Regions from separate parts of the Homo sapiens genome. Here all the other regions are linked to region 1. The links are contacts of gene promoters, found by promoter capture Hi-C in human tissues and cell types (Jung and others, 2019). All regions are on one chromosome and are shown on one strand. Each heading gives the region's core, a stretch centred on a gene start or on the middle of the fragment in contact. The rest is flanking DNA. Distances are from core to core; before and after follow the strand shown.

Evidence for each region. The method cuts DNA at HindIII sites, captures the fragments that hold promoters and counts their contacts. A contact is called where the count stands out against the background at its distance.
Region 2: a contact is called between a fragment that was not itself captured here and the fragment with the promoter of SLC41A1 in region 1, in 1 of the 25 tissues and cell types used here (aorta).
Region 3: a fragment that was not itself captured here is called in contact with the fragment with the promoter of SLC41A1 in region 1 in 4 of the 25 tissues and cell types used here (IMR-90 fibroblasts, aorta, fat and 1 more).

What each region holds. Positions count from the first base shown.
Region 1 is chr1:205,811,231-205,814,939 of GRCh38, reverse strand. SLC41A1 (solute carrier family 41 member 1) reads left to right here and starts at 1,742. Exons shown (of 11, transcript NM_173854.6): 1 at 1,742-2,132. RefSeq lists silencers at 1,382-1,611, 1,752-2,011 and an enhancer at 1,448-1,948. The HindIII fragment of the contact is 10,091 bases long and covers 1-3,709 here.
Region 2 is chr1:205,596,724-205,600,432 of GRCh38, reverse strand. It overlaps SLC60A1 (solute carrier family 60 member 1), which reads right to left. Exons shown (of 10, transcript NM_181644.5): 8 at 2,583-2,653; 9 at 1,182-1,302; 10 at 1-27. Among named protein-coding and RNA genes, the nearest start is that of SLC60A1-AS1, 29 kb to the right of the region's middle. RefSeq lists an enhancer at 1-468. The HindIII fragment of the contact is 9,157 bases long and covers 1-3,709 here.
Region 3 is chr1:205,947,538-205,951,246 of GRCh38, reverse strand. All of the region lies in intron 2 of SLC26A9-AS1 (SLC26A9 and RAB7B antisense RNA 1), which reads right to left. Among named protein-coding and RNA genes, the nearest start is that of SLC26A9, 5.9 kb to the right of the region's middle. The HindIII fragment of the contact is 4,219 bases long and covers 1-3,709 here.

The DNA of each region.
Region 1 (3,709 bases), core at 493-2,992:
GTCATATGGGGGTGTTCACTGTGTCATCATTTGTTGACCTGTACACTTAGGTTTCGTGTTCCTTTCCTAAATGCCTGGTATATTTCAATTAAAAAAATACACACAGGAGAGGGGAACAGTTTTCGAGTAAGTAAAAACACGGAAGGTAGAAAGGAAATAGGAGAGAGATCAAGATTTTATACACAGGTAGCTGAGCTGTGGCCAGATTAAATGGGGTAGTGGAGGGGAGGGAACTGTTGAATAGAACAGGGCAGAAGTTGCCTCCAGCCCAACCAAAGTTCCTCCAGATACATCAGCCTTAATTCCCCACCCAACCCCACACCCCGTATTCACAAACCTCATCTTTCTGGACAAGTCCCAGCATTTCCTAGACTAGCAGCTACTTCTCCTGGCAGAAAAACCCAGTATTTGAGGCCAAAACTGGGGTCTGAGACACTGATATTTTGCTCTAGTAGGTCCTGTGAGTCTGCAGGCCCTTGATGCAAATGCTCCAGAGCTGATCTGGAATCATCCTGGGGGTACTGGTTTGGGGTGGGTGAGGGGAACAGGGTTTGGTATGTGTATTTGTCATCCTTATCAAAAGGAATGACCTGCTCAGGTTGCTGTGTGTGCTCTTGTGAGCACGTGCCCAAAGCTTCATACACAGCACTGCGATCTCTTCTCCCCAGGCACATCTCCGCTCCAAACCCTATTCAGGGGTCTAGAGCCATGTTCGAATGCCCCCGGGCTACTTTCAGGGAGGAAAAGGACAGGAAGGAACCGTTGGTCACAGGTTCCACTGACAAGAGGGGAAAACTTGGGAGTGGGGGTTCCTTTATGAGGGAGGTCACACCCCCTGCACAAAAACATCCCAAAGAGAACTGGCATTGAGCTTGTGTTGGAGAGGTGGAGATACCCCAGGGAGGAAGTGGCGAAAGGTGAGCATGGGAACACCCCTCTTTGATCCCACAAGGTGCGTCAGGGAAAGTTGGATTTCATTTAGTCCGGGATGGTGACATCTCTCCGCACGCTGCCACCAGGCTCAGTGGGTCAGAGGAAGTGAGGCTCCCCTCCTCTCCGACCTCAGGTGATGCGTGTGCGACCCCAGCCATGGGTCTGACCTCCTTTCGCTCCCGCCCGCCAGTCTCCACCCCTTTCAAGGCCGGGACTTTTTTAAGGCCGGATTCGTCAGGGGTGAGCCATTTGCTCAAGGAACGCGGAATCTGGAGGGAGCCTAAAGTGACGAGCCGGCGGGAGAAGAGCAAGGTAGGGACTGTTCTGTCCGGGTACCAAGTGGGAGGAGGGAGCACGCGGCTGGCTGCTTGAGCCCGGGGGTCAGAGGTGGCTGGCTGGCTGGCTCCACAGGGACGTTTACCGGTCTTCCCGAAGGCCAGAGGCTCCAAGGAAACATCCAGAGGCAGGAGAGGACGCGCACTGTCGCACACGCCTCTCAAAGTCTGCTGGGGCTCCGACGCGGCGCAGCGGGCCCGGGGGCGGTAGCACCACGCAGCGAGCCCGGGCAGCGGGCCCCTCGGACCCCGGGCCGATGGGCGCTGGGACCCGCGCGCTCCAGGCGCATGGAGCCGGCTCCCGGTTCCCGTCACTCCTCCTACTGCGTTTCCCCGGCGCCCCGCCTCCTGGGCACGAAGCGAAGGAAGGGGGCCGGGCCGAGGTTGATCCCGCCCCCTCCCCAGTCCCTGATTGGCTGCTGCTGTTGTCCATCCGAGAATCTATTTTTGATGGAGCGGGGGGGGTGCCACCCAGTCTGCCCCAGATCACGTTTGCCACCGGCAGCCAACCAGTTGGGCCCGAGTCCGCGGGCAAGAAGCGATTGGGGGCGCGTGAGCTCGGCTCCCCGGTCCCCCGTCCGGGTGCCCCCCCGCCGGGCCCGAAGCGATATATCCTGCCCTCCCCGGCCACCTCCCCCGCGTGGAAGCGGAGCGGCGGCCTCGCTGTAACGCAGAAGCGAAATGTAGCGAGCCGGGTGTCGCGGCTGGACGCTCGCCTTGGCTGGGGGTGTGGGGGGGCACGCCGGGGGCCAAGGAGGACTGTCGAGGAGGAGTGATGAGAAGAGGGGGTGCCCTGCACCCCCCGAGACCACGGGCCACGCTGCCACTTGCCAGGCGCCCCCCTTCCTCCCAGGCGAGGGGCAGGTCAGTCCTGTGGGGTCCTGGGGCGGGGAGGGGGTGGTGGAGGGCGGCAGTCCTGGCGCGCAGCGCATTTGCTGAATCTGAGTGGTGGAGAGACTGAGGAGGCCACCCAGTTACTTTCTCTCCCTCCTCGGGGTTGGGGATACTAAAATGGGTCTTTTTTGTCCCCGCCTGGGAGGAGGGGATAGGGCGTCCTGGTTCACTTTTGCTTCTTTCGTCCCAGGGCCTTAGGCCTGTCTGAAGTCTCTTTACAGGGGGAGTGGTGAGGGAGGACTGGCTTCCCCTCCTGGGAGCCCCCTCTCAGGTTCAGTGGCCTGCCAGGAACACAGGAGGGAGGCGGGGGTGTCAGCTTTTAGCGGACTCAGAAACTTTTCTGGCATAGGGGCACTGGACTCAGAGGTTTCCTCCTGGATCTCTGGTGAGGGAGTTTGAAAGAACCACAGTACTGTGTTTAAGGAGATTGGAAAAGGGAGTCCTGGTGGGTGACTGAATTGATAGAGGAAACAGTTCTCCTGGGCCAGTTCCTGGGGTTTGATACCTCCTTTCCTAAACTGAACTTGACTAATTGTGTGTGTTTGGAATACTTAAGGACCTGTTCCTCTTACCTGGTGGAACTCTCTTTAAATTTATTTTTTACGAATAAGAGCTCTTCTGGTGAAATGGAATAGGATGGGAGTCCATCAGGAATTAGGAAGCCTGGGGATTCCTTTAGGCAGAGAAGTGGAGCCATTACAGCTAAAGAGATGCATTTGGAGCAAGTGCATATTGGCTTACGGTGCTTTGGTTTTTGTTTTGGGTTTTTTTTATTGCTACTTTTGTTTTTTTGTTTTTGTTTCTAAGAATTCCACTATATCCAACTCTCAGTAACCCTGGGGAACAGGAGGAGCCTAATTAACTGAAATGCGTGGGTAATAAGCAATCGTTTTATGCTCTGTCCCTTCTAACTGAGATAACTCCCTTGTCCTATCTGACAAGCTCACAGGGCCAAGAGCAGGGGGAGACGGGGAGAGACAGAGGCCTGGATCCGAGTCAGCTGTCTGAGCTCTTTGTAACACTGTTGACTCTCAAGGGCAGGAGTGGGTAGGCCTCTGGCTCTTGGCCTTGGTCTGGCAGGCTTGCCCCACTGCCCAGGGAGTCCTCCTAGCTTTGTTTTGTTTTCTCAGAAGCTAGAACGATCTGGGGTCTGGGGGACTTCACTCAGCAATCAGTTTCTCCCTATTTCTTTGCCCTGTGTGGCTGTCTTTCTGTTGCTGTCTTGTGATGATAAGCAGTCACTTTATACAGGGGTGGCTGTGTGGCAGGGAGTTTGTGACTGAATTTGTAACTGAACCCCACTTAAATAATGCAGGGTTCTTAATGGGCATTCAAGAAGGGGTCTTGCTGAGGACACACCTACCCACCCCCAGTTGCTGAGGAAACAGTGCAGAGGGCTTCTGCACAGCATCTTCCCAATCCCAGGCTGGTCACATCTCATTGCTGGTGACCACGGTGGTGATCCCTCAGGAGGGTTGCTGGTGGGGAGGATGGCGGGGATAGCTCCTGCTGAGCCTCCAGATGGAGCAGTGCAGGACTGAGTAATT
Region 2 (3,709 bases), core at 353-2,852, 210 kb after region 1:
TTCCAATTGATCTGTCTTGGGTAGGAACTACAAAAGAAAAACAAAACAGGTAGCATGTTTCAGCAGCTCTGATGAGTTGCAGTGATGATTCATTCTGAGAGCTTACCCAGGCTGTTTGTTTCTCTGCCATTCTGTGGCTCTAGAGGGAGCAAAGTGAAAAGTCAGACCCCCTAGTTCTGGCGAACAGTTGGTGGAGGCAGTTTCCTGAGACTGCTGTCTAGGGCTTGGGGAATGTGTCTGTCTCCCATGAATAAGGAGCCCATTAAGTGTTATTCATTTAATGTTCAGCAAATATTAATTGAATGTAGGTCTTAAATGAAACTCCTGTGTGTGTGCAACCAGTACTGCTGTCTCAGAAGTGAGGCTATAGTTAGTGCTGTTTTGGGGGCCACCTTTCCTTCTGGGCCTTTGTACTGAGCGTTTAGAGCGTAGATATGTTCACCCACTGAGAGCGGATGGTGAATGCCTGTTCCTTTAGTCTTTTTGTGATGATTTTGCTTTTTATAGGGAGGACAGAGTCTCCGCCTGGGCACCTTCTCTTAAGAACTGGCTTTGCACACAGCCGATGCAGTCCCTGGGCACTTTGAAAGCAGTGGGCAAAAGGGCAGGTAAGGGCTCAGGGTTATGAAAATTGCTTTGGGACTCCCCCTGCCTGGGGTCTCTAGAAGGGAGACTATTCTTAGGAGGTGTCTGTGCCCTGAAGGAGACTTTCTTTGCTACTTGGCCTGAAGGACTTCTTTTTGAAAAAAAGATTTGGACTAGAATCAAAATCCTGAACTGCAAAGAGATGGCCAATTAGGCCGTTGGGCTGAGTTCCAGCCAAGGAGTCGGGCTCTGCCTTTCAGTTCCCTGAACAGGCTGGAAAGAGATTCTTGGCTCATGGTCCCATGACATGGTGGGATGCAGGAAGCCAAGTTCACAATCCATACCCCTCTGCTAATGGAGAAACCATGAGTCAGCCGACCCAGCTCTCGCCTATCTTAAGAGTCCAGCGCAGACAATCGTATGGAAAGCAGGAAGAGAGGAAAAGGAAGCTGTAGAAAAATAAACATTTCCTTGCATTTTACTTGGAACAGAGCAGCGTTTCTGGCACGTTAAGATCCATAGCATCTCCTGCTCCCCCGCTCCCCGACCCCGGCTCTGTTTTCCTCCTCTTGTGTAGAAACAGATACTTTCCTTACCTGATGGGAGTCCAGGGTGCATCCTGTGGAAAAACAGGAGCAAGATATAGAAGGTAAAAGCCAGACAACCAAAGATCACGCCACAGACCAGGAAACTATAGCTGCCCTGAGCCTGGAATATCTGCCAAAGGGGAAAACACAGAGAGACAGACAATTAAAACTTCACGTGGAAGGTGTATCGGAGGAAGCAGCCTTCTCCATCCTTGGCTGGTTTTTCAGCTAAGTTGAGGCCCGTCACACCAAGAGATGGAATCACGGGGAGGAGGGAGGCCTTGGCCTTGTTTCAAGTTGATGTGTCTGGAGAAGGCCGAAGTCCTGCTCTAAGGCAGGGACTGGACCTGGTGACCCCCTGCAGTCCCTTGCAGCTCTGTGTTCTGGAACCTTCTGACGATCTCTATCATCACTGAAGCTCCAGTCATACTAGGTGTTTCTATACCCATAAGCCCTAACCAGAACTTTGCAGAGGATATATTGTTTTACTCTTTTATTATGAGAATTTAAAACATGTTAAAGTAGTATATGGAGCTCCAATGAACCCAACACTCAACTTTAGCAGTCAGCACCGGTTTCATTGGTGGCCTTGCACTTCTTTTCTGCACTAGGTTACACTAAAGCAAGTCCCAGATGTCACATCATTTCAATGAGGAGGGTATGGTGAGATGCAGCTCTTCCCCTCCCTCCAGCAGGGCAAAAGAGGAGGAAAGGAGAATGGAGTCACAATGAGGGAGATTTTGGAGGCCGGAAGATCTAGATGTGAGGTCCTCTCTGTCAGTTTCTGGAAGTGTGACTGACCTAGGGTAAGTTGCTAAATTCATCTGAGTTTCCGTGTCCTCTGTTGTAAAAAGGGGAATAATATCTACATTATAGTATTCAATAAAAAGTAGATGTTAGGTTGTTTTTTTTTTTTTCCTGGTGAATAAATGAAACATGGGTGGATTTGAATAGAACTGGAAGAGTTGGCCCTCTCGGTCAGGGCAGGAGTTGAGCAGGAAGCTGGGCCCTCTGCAGGGTGGCCAGAGGCTGTGAGAGGTGGGGTAGGGAGTGGTGGGTTCCGAAGGGATGGAAAAAGAACTCTGACTGCAGTTCCAACCCATCTCAGGCTCTGAGAGCTAAACAGCATTCCCACGGGCCCCCTCTGGCCCTGCTCCCAGACATGGCTTGTGTTTGCTTTGGACTTTTCCATGCATCCGTTTACATCTCCAGATCCCACATATGGAGGCTCAGCTCTCAGGGCTGGCTTGGAAACGGAAACAGGTAACAACGGCACAGGGGGCCCTGCTGGCTTTGCTGGAGACTCAGGAAAGGGACAGTTTGAGTTCAGAAGGTGGCTATCTGCATCTTCTCACCTGTCAGAGGAGTGCTCCCCAAATGCTCCCCTCTCCCTTACAGGTCCCCACATACCGAACCAACCAGCATCTGCAGCACCATCTCGCCAACTCCTGCCCCTGTCACCAGCACTGTGGTTGCACAGCCTAACAAAAAGAGAAGGTTTGGTTTGGTAAAAGCAAGTTAAGGAGACAGAAGCCAGCATTACAATCCAGGTTGCTGGCCAGGCACAGTGGCATATGCATTTCGGAAGGCACATCCCAGTACTTTAGGAGTCAGAAGTGGGAGGATCTCTTGAGGCCAGGAGTTCAAGACCAGTCTGGGCAATATCACAAGACTTGGTCTCTACAAAAAGTAAAATTTAAAAAAATTAACTGGGCATGGTGGTGTGCACCTGTAGTCCCAGCTACTTGGGAGGCTAAGGTAGGAGGGTCCCTCGAGCCCATGAATTGGAGGCTGCAGTGAGCCATGATCGCACCACTGCACTCCAGCCTGGGTGACAGAGTGAGACCCTGTCAAAAAACGAAAAAAAAAAAAAAAAAAAAAAAAAAACAACCTAGGTTGCTTCTGGGAAACCTCTGGAAGATGGCCTGGCAGAAAGGACTACTTTGGATTTCTCAGACATGAGCCTGTAACTTTGCTTTGGGAATGCCTAGGTCTTACTGTCATTTTGTCCTTTCCTTGTTCTGAAACCTTTAATTGCTCATCAATATCTCAGGGTAAATCCCATCTTGCTTAGCCCTGGCATTCAGCGCCATTCCCATTCTGACTGCTACCTACCTTTCCAGAAAGATTTCCTGATATCCTGAGGCTAGCCCTCTGGTGCAGGCAGACTAGTGTCTTCGCTGTCCTGGCATTGCACTGACCAGCCACACGCCCTGATGAGTCTGGCAGTGTGGTGCACACCTTCAGAGCCCAAGCTTCAGAGTCAGACTTGGGTTCCAAGCCCAGGTTGTCACCTACTGGCCATGTGACCTTAGACAAGTTCTCTAACCTCTCTAGGCCTTGGTTGCCTTCTCTGTAAGATGAGCATCACACCTCCTTCACAGACTTACCGTGTGGGTAACTCTGATGTAAGACATGCCAAGAGCCTGGCATAGGACTGGCACACAGTAAACTCAAAACCAGCCCAACTCTCTGCGCAAGCCCCTCAGCACTGCCTTCAGGATGAAGGCCAAGGACTTTCAAGTGGTTTGCAGAGC
Region 3 (3,709 bases), core at 633-3,132, 140 kb before region 1:
CACAATAAATTATGGTTATTCTAATTGCCCAGGGGCAGGACTCAGGATGGGACGTTCAGTCAACAGGTAAGCACTCTTGTTAAAATGCTTAGTATGTTTTGGTCCGCAAAGGAGACAAAACAAGCAAACATCCCAAATCTTATGCTCCAGGAATGAAGCCTCCCATTAGAGCCAAATCCCTGACAACATGTGGTCAAGTATCTAACTGCAGTTACCACCTGAGAGTGCTGTGGGAGTGTGGGTACAACCAGAGCACACGGCAGTCATCAGGGAGATGTGGCTTTAGCTGAAGTGCTGAAGCCGAGGCAAGAAGGGAGAGCATTCCATCCAAGCTGGATGGGGAGAGGGCATAGAGAAAGGGCAGTGTTAGTGGGCTGGGCCCTCTGGGGCTGAGAAGTGTTAGACCTTGAGCTAAGTGCTTTTCATGCATTACTTTGTTTAATATTCCCAAAGTCACTCTGAGGTAGGTGCTGCTGGTACCCACATCTTGCAGATGAGGAGGCCAAGAGCTCAGGGAAGTTTATTAACTCACCCATAATCACACAGCTTGTTTCTGGGGGGGACAGAGCCAATCTCAGGACACTCCGGTTGCACACAGAGCCTGCACTCAGTCTCCTTGCCAGGGCCAGTGGGGGTGTCAGAACTTCTCAGGCAAACTTGCTCCTGCCCTTGGCAAACAGCCCCAGATGGTCACATCCCAGGCTGGCGAGTCCCTGCTGCCTCTGAGCTCCCTGCTCGGTGGAACAGCTCAAGTCCTGCCCGCAAGCTTGGCGTCCTGCCTGCCCCCGAAGATGTCTTCAGCAGGAATCACAGCCAATGAATGTACCAGCAGGACAAGACAAGCTAAATGCTCAAGAGGCTCCCAGGGAACAATGCGGCCCTCTGAGCAGGCCAGGCCAGAGCACAGTCCTGGAGGGCTGACAGGAATTAGCCCCAGCTGACCAAGAACCCACTCACTCGGTGACCTGTTTCCTGTACTCTGGGGGTGAAGGTACTTCTTGAGGGTTGGACCCCAGCGCCACTCAGCCAGCCTTTGTCACACCTACCTAGGGCCTGCCTGCTGTGCCGGGAGACCCAGAGAAATGGCCCCAGCTGAGGTCCCAGCAGGCCAGTCCCTGTTTTCCTCCTCTACCCTCACACTGGGCCCACTTTGCTCAGGGAATCCCATGCACAGTTCACACTTGACTCCAATCCCAGTTGGAGAGTGGAGTTTAGGCTGGTCAGGGCACCTGAGTGTGTCCCAGACTAAAGCCCTGGCTTGGTTCCAGTCTCCTTCCTAGGGTGGACATGCCCCTTCTCTAGGGCTGCAAGCCTATCCTTGACCCTGCTACCAGCTCCGCCTTAGCCCTCAGTGATCAGTTCTGGCAAGGTTGCTGGAAAGGGGGAGGGTAGAATCAGGGAACTAAGTACCCTGACCTTGGCAGGTAAAAAAACCCCACAGCAATAGGAGGTTTACTTTGCAGAGGGGTGCTGATAAATTTCTGGACTTGTCCCCCAAACTCTCATGGTAGACACATGCCCCTCCACACTCCCTTCCCTCCAATGTGAACTGGAGCAGCCCCTGCTACAAGACTCTGTTCTTGCAAAAGCTGCCTACACCTGTGGGTCTGGCTCTAGAGAGTCTGGTTTATTCCTTAGGCAGGAAAGCTCCAGGTAACTAGAAGGTGAGAGGGCTCAGCTGCATCCACGGCTAGGCAAAGGTCCACTGGTCACCAGGGAGCATGTGGAGGTGAGGAGGGAGGAAGAGGAAAGGTGTACTACATACACAGGTCCCCCTCTCTTTTAGAAAAGCATTCTCACTCTTGTTCAAAATTCACACTGCAGACACACATACACACATTCACTCACACCCTTTCCACTTGGCACCTTCCAAAAGGAGAAAAGGCAGAGGGGGCTGGGGCTCCAGGGCTCAGGTGCAGGTACTGCCACCATGGTTTTGCTCTGCTGGAGAAGCTTGGGTGGGGAGCCTTCTGGAACCCATTCTGCCACTTGGCTGCATCTCTGGGAGATTGTGAGGCAAGACCTGCAAACAGGAGCTCTGCACTCCTGGCTCCCTGGGACAAGGGAGCAAGGGCCATTCATTGTGCAGTTGAGAAGGGCCTCGCCTAGCTGGGGTATGGCTGAAGGGCTGATTACACTGCACTGTCAGAGAGATGATGGAGATAAGCAGATGGCCATGCCACTAGTGGTCATTCCTGGGCCCTGTCTTTGTGCCGGAAGGAAAGGAATTCACCTTACAACCGCACCTCCTTTTTTGCCACTCAGCCCCCTTCACAGATGAATAAATTGAGCCTGGGAGTTTAATACTTTGCCCCAGGTCTCATGACTAGCAAACCCCAGAGCTAAGATCTGAGGCTAAAGTTTTCTTTCTTCCAGTACATTCTGATGTCTCACAAGTGCTTGTGATACAGTCCCGGGCCTCAAGGAACCACTGGGAGACAAAACTAACCTAGAAGACCTAGAATACCTCACTTTCCGCCGGCAGTGTGGTTCAGACTGCACAGCTGTTGGCACTCAGAAAACAGAGGTCTGTGTGGTCAGGAGTCACCAGGGAGGAAGAGTCAGGTGGATTGGATCAGGTGGTGGGTATTAGGCACCTTCCAGTCTCAGACTCTTTCCTGGAGAATGTGGAATAGGAAGAGGGAGATGGGAAGGTATCATTTTCCTATGACTTTACTGCAGTCAGAAAAACCACCTCTGCCATAATACCCTCGCTGCCTAAGCCAGATCCTAGAGATAGGGTGAGGCCTGGTGCCCAAGATTCTCAATTCCATGCTTCTCCAGCTCTCTCAGTTCTCCCTGAATTGGGGGTCTACATCCCCTGCTTAGAAGCAGCCCCTACACCCAGGTTAATATGTGCTTGGCTTAAGGTCCCGGTGTCAGGATTGCAGCCAGGAGGCCCATCAGTCAACATTAACCACCTGGAACTCACCTCCTCCTTAGCTCTAGCCCCAGTCTCAGCATTCCCAGGGCAGTGTGAACTGCCCTGAACACCCTCACCCAGGCCAATTTCTGGTTCTGAGCAGAATCATTTCCTCTTTCTAGAAGCTGCAGGACCCGCCCACCTAGGAGTTGTATCCTCCTGGGCTCCCAAGCCCTGACACTGCAGACCTGCTTCCCCCACACCCCCAACCCCAACCCTAAACCACTCCTAAAGGAGTGCCGAGTTCAGATGGGCAGAACAGTCCCTCTGCAGCGGCAGCTGGCATATGCCCACCTCGGAGCCCAGGGTGTGTCTGGGTAATGACCGAATGGGGAGTGGGAGGAGGTCCCCACATGACTTCTTGCCCTCTTTGTGGAGAGAGGGCTCGGTTTGTGCTCCAGGGCCAGGGTGGAGGGATAGGATGGGGTCCTGAAGCAGGCACCGACCTGAGCCATCTCCTCAGCTCTGCCATTATCTCTCTCTCGGTGACTTTGGGCAGGTCCCTGGCCCCCTCATATGTAAAATGAGGGAGGTGAACCAGATGGACCCTAAGGCCCCTTCCTTGTCTCCCGTTCTATGGTTTGTGCCACGTCCTTTCCTCCGGCCTCAGATGTGCAGGGATCATGGTCAATGCTGACCTGACTGTCTCCAGACAAGAACTGTCCAGACCCTCGCCACCTCAGAGTCCACCCTAAGCTTCCTCCTAACATATTGTCCCCCAGCTCTGTCATTGTGTGTATTCTAGAAGCCTCCTCTGCCTGCTCCTGCCAGGGTCTTGATCTCCCA